Regions from separate parts of the Homo sapiens genome. Here all the other regions are linked to region 4. Evidence: promoter capture Hi-C in 16 types of primary human blood cells and fetal thymus (Javierre and others, 2016). All regions are on one chromosome and are shown on one strand. Each heading gives the region's core, a stretch centred on a gene start or on the middle of the fragment in contact. The rest is flanking DNA. Distances are from core to core; before and after follow the strand shown. Region 1 overlaps QSOX1 (quiescin sulfhydryl oxidase 1). Region 2 overlaps ACBD6 (acyl-CoA binding domain containing 6). Region 3 overlaps ACBD6 (acyl-CoA binding domain containing 6). Region 4 holds the start of MR1 (major histocompatibility complex, class I-related).

Evidence for each region. Contacts are between HindIII fragments. The CHiCAGO score rates a contact against its expected background, and 5 or more counts as called.
Region 1: a contact is called between a fragment that was not itself captured here and the fragment with the promoter of MR1 in region 4, in 1 of 17 cell types (total B cells). The highest score is 6.0, in total B cells.
Region 2: a contact is called between a fragment that was not itself captured here and the fragment with the promoter of MR1 in region 4, in 3 of 17 cell types (total B cells, total CD4 T cells and activated CD4 T cells). The highest score is 5.8, in total B cells.
Region 3: a fragment that was not itself captured here is called in contact with the fragment with the promoter of MR1 in region 4 in 11 of 17 cell types (total CD8 T cells, total B cells, fetal thymus and 8 more); the score reaches 11.7 in total CD8 T cells.

The regions. Positions count from the first base shown.
Region 1 is chr1:180,158,811-180,162,177 of GRCh38, reverse strand. The region is part of intron 1 of QSOX1 (quiescin sulfhydryl oxidase 1); the gene reads right to left. Among named protein-coding and RNA genes, the nearest start is that of QSOX1, 5.6 kb to the right of the region's middle. The HindIII fragment of the contact is 2,605 bases long and covers 207-2,811 here.
Region 2 is chr1:180,479,141-180,482,378 of GRCh38, reverse strand. The region is part of intron 3 of ACBD6 (acyl-CoA binding domain containing 6); the gene reads left to right. Among named protein-coding and RNA genes, the nearest start is that of ACBD6, 22 kb to the left of the region's middle. The HindIII fragment of the contact is 5,657 bases long and covers 1-3,238 here.
Region 3 is chr1:180,496,416-180,499,400 of GRCh38, reverse strand. All of the region lies in intron 1 of ACBD6 (acyl-CoA binding domain containing 6), which reads left to right. Among named protein-coding and RNA genes, the nearest start is that of ACBD6, 4.7 kb to the left of the region's middle. The HindIII fragment of the contact is 4,552 bases long and covers 1-2,985 here.
Region 4 is chr1:181,032,225-181,035,274 of GRCh38, reverse strand. MR1 (major histocompatibility complex, class I-related) reads right to left here and starts at 1,292. Exons shown (of 6, transcript NM_001385161.1): 1 at 1,201-1,292. The coding sequence starts at 1,267. RefSeq lists enhancers at 1,383-1,492, 1,623-1,722, 1,923-2,112. The HindIII fragment of the contact is 2,248 bases long and covers 1-1,954 here.

The sequences.
Region 1 (3,367 bases), core at 260-2,759, 870 kb after region 4:
AAATTATATGATATTCCTAGAAATATGATACATTATCAGCCTTAATTTTGGTTATTAGGTTAAAATGTTGTATGCACAGCAATAACCAGATTTCCTTGTCAATTGTGTCATTATTACTATGAACTCTCATCAGATCTTTAACCACAACCATTTTAAGTCTTATTGTCTACAGTTAATTGCTTTATTCTGATGTTTTTCTAAAAGCTTTTTTCTAAGCAACTATAATCCTGAAGTGCTTCATCTTCAAGGAGATCCACGGAAACGTCTCTGATAAGTACCATTTCTGATAACTTCGAGATAATACGATTGGACTGGGAAAGAATTTCCAGAACTCTAATGAAAAAAACTGATGGGTCTGCAAAACTGATAACCAAGATCAAGCACAACAAGAATTAATTACATGAGACTAAATGAACTAATGAAGAATTATGGGTTTTTCTGGTTTTTAAATTTGAAACGTTGCTGGTTCTTTTTAATGTTTTGTTGTCCAGATTTAAGAAAACTTATTTTCTTTTAAGCTATCTATAGTTTACAGCAATTTGGTAAGTATACTCTTGTGAACAAAAATGGAAACATTTTCTCCCTACAAGACCTCTCTGGAATTCAGAAACTATTTGTGAATATTCCTATTTTTATGGCAATACTGTTATTTGCATAAGTTCAATAAGTATCTGCTCTCTTTACAACAGGATACAATAGGAAACACTGGTCATATTACCAAGGTTTTGAGTGTGATGCCATACTTGAGAATATACCTATGATGAATCTATAGGTACTGCAGGTGAAATCTGAAGTTGGGCTTGGGTTGACTTCCTAGCCTTGAGAAGTTGTTAAAAGTCCAATCTGAGATTCCTTATCGATAAGTTCTAGCAAAGCAAACTTAAGAAGAGCCTACGTGGTCAATCACTATTCTTGCCACACTTATGTAAATAATTAGGCCAAGTCTGATGTGACTAAATATTTTCTGCAAGCAAATTAGTCTGAATTTTATTTTATTTATTTTATTTTATTTTATTTTAGATGGAGTCTTGCTCTGTCATCCAGGCTGGAGTGCAGTGGTGCAATCTCGGCTCACTGTGACCTCTGCCTCCCACTTACCCTGATTATCTTTGGTAGAAATGGGGGTGACTATAGAGAGAAAAAATATGTTCCTAAAGAAAAACTATAGTACATCTGTTATTAGATTGTAGCCTTGTTGATCATTTTCAAGTTTTTATCATCTACCTATAAGATGGATTGAATTCTGAATTCTTCCAGTTTCTTCCAATAACTAGCTACAATTCTCCAACTAAGAACAGGAACTGTTCTGTGCCTAAAGCCCTATAAACAGAAGCTGAACAACTTGATATACATTTCAAGGGACAAGTCTCATGCCTGACGTGTACGCTACACAAAGAGTTCACCAAAATGCCCAATGCCATAACCAGAGACAATCAAACTGCAAACCAGGACAAGAAGTTGACAACTTCATGCTTTCCCAAAACTTCTGAACAAGAGTTTCATTGGAATAAGACTTCCACTTTATCCTTGATTACATCTACCTTTTTTTGTCTGGCAGGATAATGCTGTAGTTAGAATTTCACAATCAGTGGCTTCTGTGGGTAACTTCACAAACTGTTGGATTTGTCACGCTAAACCCAGATCTTTACATGACCAAAGGGATCCTTTAGTCTGCCCAGTGGGTAACTTCAGCAACATCCCTAACACAACTGTTGTTCAAACTGTACTAGTGGTCCCTTTTATAGAGTCAGACTTTTAGACCCATGTGTTCTCACTTCCTGCTTTAATTTAACCCAGTCATGGGATACTAGATAATAGAACTGCTACCTACTAGCGAACAGGGAATCTGTGCAATTGCTGACACTTTCTGTTGCACATGGATAGACACATAGTGTATTGAGACTCAGTTGCAAAAAAATGAACAAATAGTACTTGCTTAAAAAGGGTAAATTCCTCATCTGGCTCATTCTTTGATCTCTTCAATTTTAGTTGGTTTGGTTCATGGGTCCCTGGCTAAGCGTCATATTGTAAACTCTTAGTATTATCCTGGGGAGAGTCATTACAGTAGTTTCCCTGTTACACTGTATCCTCTCAAAGAGTCTTAAATATCTATATGCAGCCCTCTGCTGAATGCTAAATGGTCTCTCTCCAGCTGGAATGATAAAACTCCAAGAAACGCATGATAATGAGGACACCTTAACCTATAAATGATGTGTTAAGACCGAAAACCCAAAACGATGATTACTGAGAGTAGTGCTGATGCCCTGTTTTAGTAACTCTCACCTAGGTGAGAACCTGACCAAAAGGGGAGAACTGTTAAATAATATTTCTAGGAGGCCATTGGTTGGGACTGAGCTCCTGCACAAGGCCCAAGAGACCAAACCAAGATGGAGTCCCTCAAGCTGAAGTTCCACGCCACCAAGCCAAAACTAAGCTGTCGATCTGACCTTCCAAGATCAGGAGAGAGTGAGTTAACAGTCAAATCTTCAAACAAGCCAGTTTCAGCCAACATACAGAAGTCTCCTCTGCTTTAACCTTTAAAAGGGACCGAAATAACCAATCAGATTTTTGATCTGTTTCTACTTTCTTCAGCCTTTTTCTGTCTATAAAGCCAAACTCCTCTGCTCAGCTCATCAGAATACTCATTCTGTAAGACAGAATGTGGTGTTGTCCGATTCCAGAATCACAAATAGAAGCCAGTTAAGATTTTTGAATGTGGTGTAATTTTGTCTTTTGACAAGTAACAGGAGATGGAATAGAGAAGGTCCTTATGTGAGTGCTCCATTGTTAAAGCAAAGCTGCATTTAAGCTTTACTGTCAACGCAATGCAGAGCTGGGTGACAGAGGCTTTTTGAAGTGTCAGGTGTCTTAAATGCCTAACACCAAAATGATCAGTAGTATCAGTCTAGCTCTACTACTGGGGAGAAAACCCTTTCCTGGTGCAATTATTGCTCTGAACAGCGTAATTTTTCTACCAACCACAGAATAAATGGACTAATGGAGAGGGGAAGGGTGGCGAGGCAAGAGAAGTTGGACAGCTGTAAATCTTGGATTGATGGGTGAGGGGATGCCCTCTGGTAGGGGGTGTTGTGGGGATTCTGCTGAGCCCCCACTGGGGGCTTGGTCTGGAGTCAAGGGCAGCGTCCCCTGCCCCACTCACAAGTGCAGGGAGGGCACTGGGTGGAGCAGGAAGCCTTGCTTGGAGTTTAACTGGCTGCAGCACCGTGAGCTCCACATGTCTCTCTGGACCTCTGCTTCCTCCTGGATCAGCGAGGGCCAGGATGAATGATCTCTAATGCCCCTTCTAGCTCTGACAACCGTTGAGGTGCTGGATGGCAAACAACTCTTAACAAGAAACATGCAGCCT
Region 2 (3,238 bases), core at 494-2,993, 550 kb after region 4:
ATAGCATAGATGGGAGAACTGACACTCTCCTTTCTTTAGTTCCAGCAGCCAAATAAGTGGTTGTCTAGCTGTCCAGTATCCATCTAGCCTTTTGCAAAATTGGCTGCTATTCATCTGTGGTTTTTGTAACATCAGCTAGTTATCTTTTACCTATAAAAATTATTGAAAGATAGATAAATTTATACCTGTTGTTTATACTTACCTATGAAGGCAGTCATAATTTTTATAATTTATATTTAAAAAAATAACTAAACAGATTTGTTTTTGACAAAAATTTACCTTTGACTTTTTTCTTGTTATTCATATCTAATTTTTGTTGACTATAAGGTATTAAATTGAGGTTCTCTAGGTGCCTTATGCTAGAGAATATTTCTTTAAGTTATATATTTCTCATGTATTAAAACTCTCATCTCAGAAAGAAATTCACCTGACTATCGAACTTGATAGTACTCCATCCAGCCCATAGACTCTTCAAGGCAAGGACCGTGTCAGATTCGCCTTTGTGTTACTATTTACCACCTACAAAGTTCAGCACAGGGCCATACCATAGAGGATACCTAGATTATTCTAATTTCCTTATAATTCTCTTTTCCAGGGTAAATAACATGAATCCATTATATTTCTCTCTTAGAGTGTATTTCCAACCTTCTGGTTCTTCTTTTGTTTCTTCAAGTTCCAGGGCATAACTTATGCTCAGTATAAGGGGAATACTTTATTTAATTTAATTAGCATTTTTAGAGCATATAGATATGTAGGATGCTATTAGCAATTCCTGAAAAAAGCTACCTGGGAATAAATAGAAAACTTAGCATTTTTGGTTAAAGACTAACAGTGTTGCTGAAGAAATTAAAATATACACAGGGAAAGTGAATTTTGAATTAAGATTTGAGTATGGTAAAGGCCACTTTTAAGGTAATAGAAATATTATAAAGCACAAAGTCTGCATGATTAAGTATTTTTTTGCCCCAAGTTTCAGCCTGTGTTGATGATTTTCAAAACTGTGTCTCTCCTTATCATTCTTGCAGTTTTAACCACAGTCTATATTGATTCTAAATTTATTTTTTAGCCCTGATCTTTTCTGTGATCCTGATCAGGGATTAGGGTTTTTAGACCAGGGTCACAAAAAAAAAAAATCAAAAACAAGCGCCTTCATGGGCCAAGCCATTAACATAAATGAATGAAGTCGGTTTTGATTTATATAGAGAGAATCACAAGGTTGTGGTTTGCAGTGAAGTGCATGCCCTATTTAAAGAGGGGAATTGGATGTTAGCTCCAGCCAGTTATTGCCATGAATGCTCAGTAGTGCCAGATCTGATATAAAATCTTGTTTTTTTTTTGTTTTTTTTTTTGAGACGGAGTCTCACTCTGTTGTCAGGCTGGAGTACAGTGGTGCGATCTCCGCTCACTGCAGACTCTGCCTCCCGGGTTCCAGCAATTCTCCTGCCTCAGCCTCCTGGATAGCTGGGACTACAGGCACATGCCACCATGCCCAGTTAATTTTTGTATTTTCAGTAGAGACAAGGCCTCACCATGTCGGTTAGGCTGGTCTCGAACTCCTGACCTCAAGTCATCCACCCACCTCGGCCTCCCAAAGTGCTAGATTACAGGCATGAGCCACCGTGCCCAGCCTGAAATCTCATTTTTTAAGTGACATCTTCTGATTTTTTTTAAAGTTAAACATAATGTGAGCCTAATCAAGTACTTCTACAAGCTCCATTTGACTTGAAGAACTCTGCCTTTTTGGCTTTGAGTTTCATGTGCTGGAATACTTATTGAGCATTTCTGTTTAGTGTTGCATTGGCACTTCAGACTCAACAGGTCTAAAATAGAACTTATCAACTGTCTACCCCCTTACCCTGCCTTCAGATGCTTTCTTCTGCTTCTTTCCTTATTTAATGGTATTGCCATATACTGAGTTCATTCAAGTGAGAAACCTAGCAGTGATCCCTGAATCTTTTCTTACTGCTTTTTCTTAGTGACCTATTTAATTAGTTACCAAGTGTCACTAATTTTATCTTTTAAGTAATCTGCATCTATCACTTTCTTTCTACCCCTACTGCCTCTTTCTTAATATATCATCATCTCTTGCCTAGGCTGTTGCAATGCCTCCTGTATTCTCCTTGTTTTGAGTGTGGTCCCTCTGAGTTCTGTTTTCCACATTGCTTCGGACGTGACTTATCTGAATGTATATCTGACCATGTTTATCCCATTTAAAAGTGGTTCCCCTTTACTCACAGGCTAAATTAGCATGATATACAAAGTCCACCATAATCTGGTTTATATCCACATTTGAGTCCCACCTTTTATCCCTCTTCATCTTTTATTTTAGATTCCAGTACTATCAGACTGCTTGTATTTTCTGCTTGTATTTTCTTTTTTTCTTTGGTTTTGAGACAGGGTCTGGCTCTATCACCCAGGCTGGAGTGCAGTGGTGCGATCTCTGCTCACTGAACCCTCTGCCTTCGGGGCTCAAGCCATCCTCCCACCTCAGCCTCCTGAATACCTGGGACTACAGGTGCGTGTCACCACACCCAGCTAGTTTTTTGTATTTTTAATAGGGACAGGGTTTCGCCATGTTGCCCAGGCCAGTCTCGAACTCCTGGACTCAAGCAATCCACCCGCCTCCGCCTCAAAGTGCTGGGATTACAGGCGTACCTGCCATACTGCTTGTATTTTCCTACAAATATATGGGGTACCTGTGAAATTTTGTTACATGTATATAGTGCTGTACTGATCAAATCAGGGCATTTCGGGTATCTGTACATTTTTGTCAAGTGTAGTCCCTCTACTCTGCTATCAAACATTGAATTTATTCCTTCTTTCTTACTGTATGTTTATACCCTTTAACCCACTTCTCTTCATTTTCCCCTCTTCCCCCTACTTGCCCCTCCCAGTCTCTGTTATGTGTCTTTCCACTCTCTACCTCCATGTGATCAAATTTTTTAGCTCATATATATAAATGAGAACAAGTGATATTTGTCTTTTTGTGTCTGGCTTATTTCACTTAAGATAATGACCTCAAGTTCCATCCATGTTGCTGCAAATAACATTTCATTCTTTTTTATAGCTGCGTAATATTTCATTGTGTATATATACCACATTTTATTTATTCATTCATCCGTGATAGACATTTAGGTTGACTTTTTATCTTTGCCATTGTGAATAGTGCTGCAATAAGCATGCAAGTATTGATTTCTTTAGAGAAGAGGCTTTAAATGAGATTGATGAATATTTTGTT
Region 3 (2,985 bases), core at 387-2,886, 540 kb after region 4:
TCTGTATCTGAAAATAAAATTCTGCATTGTTAGAGAATAATATGCTTACTTATATATGACACTGGGCCGCAGTTTTCATCAATCTCCTAAATATTTTTGACAAAATTGTGAGATAGTGTTAAGAATAGCATCTTTGATAGAATAATAAAGTTGGAAGTCCAATATCATTTCTGCATATTGGATCAAAATTTATAAAATAACGTTTTGTATTCAGAATAGCACCCTATTTTGTAGGCTGGATGAGGTTGTTGGCAGGAAGATAATAAAAATAAGCTGAAATATGAACCTTATTTTCTCAGGGAGAACTCTAAACTTAGCATCATAGCTTTATTAGTCTCAGATAAGCCTATGGCTTCAGAATAATCTTTTAATAAAGTTTTAACAAAATCGAATGAACAATTTTTTGGTCCTTCTTTACATCAGCCTACACTCTCCCTCCTAAAGATAGCTAATTGACAGCTGTGAAAACTGGAGAGTAATGAAAATTTGTGAATTCCTGTTGACTTCATAAGATACTGTTTAATAATACTTTTTTTTTTTTTTTTGAGACAGTTTTGCTCTGTCATCCAGGCTGGAATGCAGTGGCGTAATCTGGGCTCACTACAACCTCCGCCTCCTAGGTTCAAGCTATTCTCTTGCCTCAGCTTCCCGAGTAGCTGTGATTACAGGTGTCTGCCACCGCACCTGATTGATTTTTGTATTTTTAGTAGAGATGGGGTTTCACCATGTTGGCCATGGTTGACCAGGCTGGTCTCCTGATCTCAGGTGATCCACCTGCCTTGGCCTCCCAAAGTGCTGGGATTACAGGCATGAGCCACCGTGCCTTAATACTACTTTATTAAATATTAACCCTTGAGTCAAGTCTTACATTTTGTGTGATGAGATGGGAAGTACACACAAAGTACTTCTGCTGCATACTGAATTATGTTAACTATTTTGAGGAAAAGCACTTGTGTAATTTCTGAGTCGCAAAATGAACTATATTCTTTTCCAATTTTACTTAACAGAACAACTCACAGATAATTATACCTACTCAAATTTGGGTATTTGGCAGGTAGTTTCTTAAAAATGAACGAAATAAGCCTGTCACTTCAAGGAAAACAACTCAAAGTGTTTGTTGCCAGTAATAACATTTGAACCTTCAAGTGAAAATGAGAAATTTGGAAAATCTATATCTGCCACCATGAGCTTGACAGCTTCCCAGTACTTAAAAACTTTTTTTGATGAGATAAGTGGTGACAGTCATGAATGTGAACGTTTGCTGTTATATCATGAAATGTGTCAACATTTGAAAAGTCTGTGTAACTCAGTAAACCATATTTTCTAAATATTTCATGGAATGATGTTACAAATTATGTGTTGGTAAAAGATGCCTTTCAAAGTGCAAGTCAGACCAATGGATTTCAGTGTTAACAGTATGAAAAATTCATTGATATGAGTTCAGATTCCTCGTTGCAACTGACCTTAAACTACCATCTGTTAGGTTTTGGCATAGTATCAAAGAAGAATATCTACAATTATCTGAAAATGCTGCTAAAATACTTCTCTCTCTTTCTAACAACATATCTGCGTGAAGCCGAATTTTCTTCATATACTTCAACCAAAACAACATATTGCAGTAGACTGGATGCAGCATTAGATATGCAAATGCAACTGGCTTCTACTAAGCGAGACATTAAAAAAATTAAAAAATGTAAAACAGTGCTACTTTTCTCACTAATTTTTTTTAGAATATGTAGTTATTTTGCATGAAATGTTATTTATGTTAACATCTAATGGGTTTATTATTTTTAAATGAATTAATACACATTTTTTAAATGTCCCAGTTTTAATTTCTAATGTGGTAAATATCGATAGATATAACCCATATAAATGATGGCTCTTTAAGATCCTTAATTTCTGAGAGTATAAAGGGATTACAAGACTAAAAAAATTGAAAACTGCTGCCCTAAGTTCCTTTTTCATGGTCAGAGGTGGCTTACCATCACCACATGTATATCCTATCCAGAGCAAAGGGAAAGGGGAAGACAAGCTCCTTTTCTTTTTAAGGAAGGTATTTGTATCACTTTTCCACACATCCAGTCCCCAGAACCTAGGCAGAAGTTGGATGGCCATGTATAATGTTTAGCCGGATGATCATGTGTCCAGCTGAGACTTCTGTTACTATAGGAGAAATGGAGAACTATTGGCATTTGTTTCTGCCACTGGATAGTGTCTGGATAAAAAACAAAAATAGTTATAATTGCTATTTTTATGTCTTAAAGTTTGTATAATTTATCTCATTTATTATTTCTAACAGTCTGGTAGTTCATGTGATTTTAGAGAGTCCAGAATTGAAGCCCAGACTCTATTTAGCATTTAAGACAGAATGATGTAGTAAAGGGATATTGAGCTTTGGAGTCAAACACTCTTTGATTTAAATCCGGACTACTAATTCAGGATATACTAATGTGTGAACTGAGACAACCCTCCTGAGCTTCTCTCTTCATTTATAAAATGAGTTTGTGATGGCATACCTAGCAGGATTTTTTTTTTGGCCCATTTGAGATAAAATATGTGAAGTGTTTGGTCTATCGTGATTGTTCAAGAAATGTGGCTCCTTCTTTTTCACCCTTTCTTCTCTCTATTCCATCATAACAGGGCTGCTTCTATGTAAGTATACATTTTAATAACAGCATAGGGCCATGCAATTAATCGCTAAGCAAATGATAGAGGTGGTAATTGTTATGAATTCAGAGGTAGATGAGATCATTGTAGACTGAAAGGGTTCTTAGAATCTGAAATTTGAGTAGAACTGGAAGGTCGTGCAGCATCTTGAAAAGCTGAGGAAAGAAGAAAAGGCATTTCAGGTGAGTGGAGTAACAAGCAAAACCCTGAACTAGGAATACCTAAGGCAGTCAGTAGATCATTCTGGTTAGATGAAGGCATCAGTTAGAGTAATGGGAAACAGTGGGAAAATCCCTGAGAAGTAGATAGGTTCTGTGG
Region 4 (3,050 bases), core at 43-2,542:
ACCTCCGCCTCCTGGGTTCAAGTGATTCTCCTGCCTCAGTCTCCCGAGTAGCTGGGATCACAGGTGCGCACTGTGCACAGCTAATTTTTTGTATTTTTAGTAGAGATGGGTGTGCCGAGCTAATTTTTTGTATTTTTAGTGAGATGGGGTTTCACTATGATGGCCAAGCTGGTTTCAAACTCCTGACCTCAAGCGATCCGTCTGCCTCGGCCTCTCAACGTGCTAGGATTACAGGTGTGAGCCACCACTCCCAGCCATATGATTTAAAATTTTTTTATTTGTATAAATTTATGATGTACACATGCAATTTTGTTATAGCATAGATTGTGTAGTGGTCAAGTTGGGGCTTTAAGGTATCCATCACCCAAGTAACACACATTGTACCCATTAAGTAATTTCTAATCATCCACCCCCCTCGCCCTTCCAAATCTCCATGGTCAGTCATTCCACTCTCTATGTGCATGGGTGATTTGAAAGAACTCCTTCCTCTCATGTTCATCAGTCACACCTATGGTGGTGGCCAAGTCTAAGTTCTGGACACTGCCCACCAGTACCAGTCCTCAGCCCAGGGAGCAAGTGATTAGGGCAGAGAAGCCTGGTGGTTCTAGCCCATGGGCCCTTTCCCCTATTTGAGGCAACAGAAGGCATTTGCTTCCCCAGTGACTTGAGCTCCCCGAATAATGAAAAACTCTCCCTTCTACTTGATTAATACTTCTCACAGTCAGTAAACAAACCCAGAGCCATGGTTTTATCTTTCTTGGATCTTTTATTACAGGTAGGGCTTGTGTTGAGGAAAAACATAAATAAACCTGAACAATGGATCTACTCCACTGTTAATGCCCCTGAAACTCTGACTACATCCTCATGAGACTCTGGAAGTTAGAAAAGAGGAGAAACAAAAGTAAAAGAAAAAATATGAGCAGAAAAGAAAGGAGGCCATGCTCAGAGGGAAAGTGAGGAAGTTCCAGAGTCTTTCTAGAACGGCTCCCCCTCCCTCAGAAGGTGGTGACATCAAAATCCTACAAATATGAACTGGGAAACTGTTCAGGCAATCCATTGCTCCTGGAGTCTGAGTGTAATACATACACGTTTCTGCCCCTGGCTTCTATATTTTTCACCACAAGTTTTAGGAAGAAAAGCTGTGCCTTCTAGGCTGCCTCGACTTTGGAGTTAGGAGAGAAGAGGACGTGGGATACTCACGGGAATCGCTGTGCTTCACCATTAACACAATGATGAGAGGTAACAGGAACGCCATCAGTTCCCCCATAGTCCTTCTCTTTCCGGGTTCTTTTAACCAAAAACTGACAGGTCCCTTCTGAGAACCTCTTGGTGACACACAAGGCCTTCTCCCAATAAGAACAGGGGAAGATATGCAGTGTCATCAGTTGCTAGGTTAAAAAAAAAAGATAAAATGAAAGCATGAACACCTTCTTCGGTAACTTTTAAGTCTTTGCTGGTTTCAGACACTGCTTGCTCCTTTTGGTGTATCTATCTTCACCCTATTCCCAATTTTTAAATATTTATGGAGCATAGTCATGTTCAAAGCACAGAGAAACAAAGATTAATCATATCTGGTCAATCAGGGAGCTCAAGCTGCTGCCTCTGCTTCCCTGGAGCTTAGAATTTTGCTTAAGGGTCAGTAAGAAAGAGTCACAGTTCCCACGGCTTGGAACTCCCTGCTCTGGCTCCCTATGATGCTGAAGTCTCTGTCTGAGATAGCAGGTGTCACTTAGATTGTCCCGTAATCTTCAACTTAGGTCTGTCCTCCCTGCTACTCTAGCACCCAGCACAATAAGCTCAAAACACTTACTGAATAAAAGAAGGCAAGAGAAAGGCCTACAGAAGATTCTGAGGGGCAGCCACTCAGCTTGCTCAATCAGCAATCCCCAAGATCAAGCTGTGGCTACACTGTCATAAGGAGCACATGACAAGCTGGAAAACAGCAGCTTAAGCTTGTCCAGGGAGCTAGGGAACAGGCCCAGACAGGAAAGAGGAAGTAGACATGAAGGGGAGAGGTGAATGGAGGCATGGCCATGAGGCAGGCAGGCTTGAGCTGGGTTCAGGGACCTGGGTTTGCCTCCCCACTATTTGACCATGGGCAGAATCCCAAATTGCACCAAGGCCTGATTTCTTCAACTTTAAAAGCAAATCCTGTCATATATTTCACAGAGTTGTTGAAGGATCAGAAGTTCTGTTTATGATGCATTTAGTAGGTAGTAGAACCTTATGTACCGGTTGTATGGTAGGTTGAGAATTGTCGCCCCAAAGATGTCCACAACCTAATTGCCAGAACCTGTGGATATATTACCTTAAATGGCAAAAACAAAATAAAACAAAACAAAACCCTTGGCAGATATGATTAAATTAAGGATCTTGAGACAGAGAGCTATCCTGGATTATCTGGTGGACCCAGTGTAATCAGAGGGGCCTTATTAGAGGGAGGCAAAAGGGTCAGAGTCAAGGAGATGTGACAATGGAAGCAAAGGTCAGAGTGATGATGCCATTGCTGAAAGAAGGACATGAGCCAAGGAACGCAGATGGCCTCTAGAACTAGAAAAGAGAAGGAACAGATTCTCCTTAGAGCCTCCAGAAGGAACACAACACTTTGATTTCAGCTGATAGGACACATTTTTGGACTTCTGTCCTCCAGAACTTTGAAAGAATAAATTTGCATTGTTCGAGGCCACTAAGTTGGTGGTAATTTGTTATAGCAGCAACAGGAAACTAATAGGTCTACCTTTACCCAGAATAAAATAAGAAGCCAAATAATGAAATTAACATTTGGCAATCTCTCAGCGGCCCCTGGCACCTTCTCTTCTCAGATCTTTGTATTTCTCTCTTCCTTTCCTTTCTGTTTCTTTACATTGTTTTTCCTTTTGTTACTCATTTAACAAATACAGTCACCTGGATTTCTCTTTTGGAAAACTCCCCCAATATTCCCAAATGTCTCTCAGCACTGGAATTCCATGGCCATGTATTTTTTCCTTTGAATTTTTGTTAATATCTTGTTCCAAAATGCATTCCATACCATAACCTGCTGTACTGACATT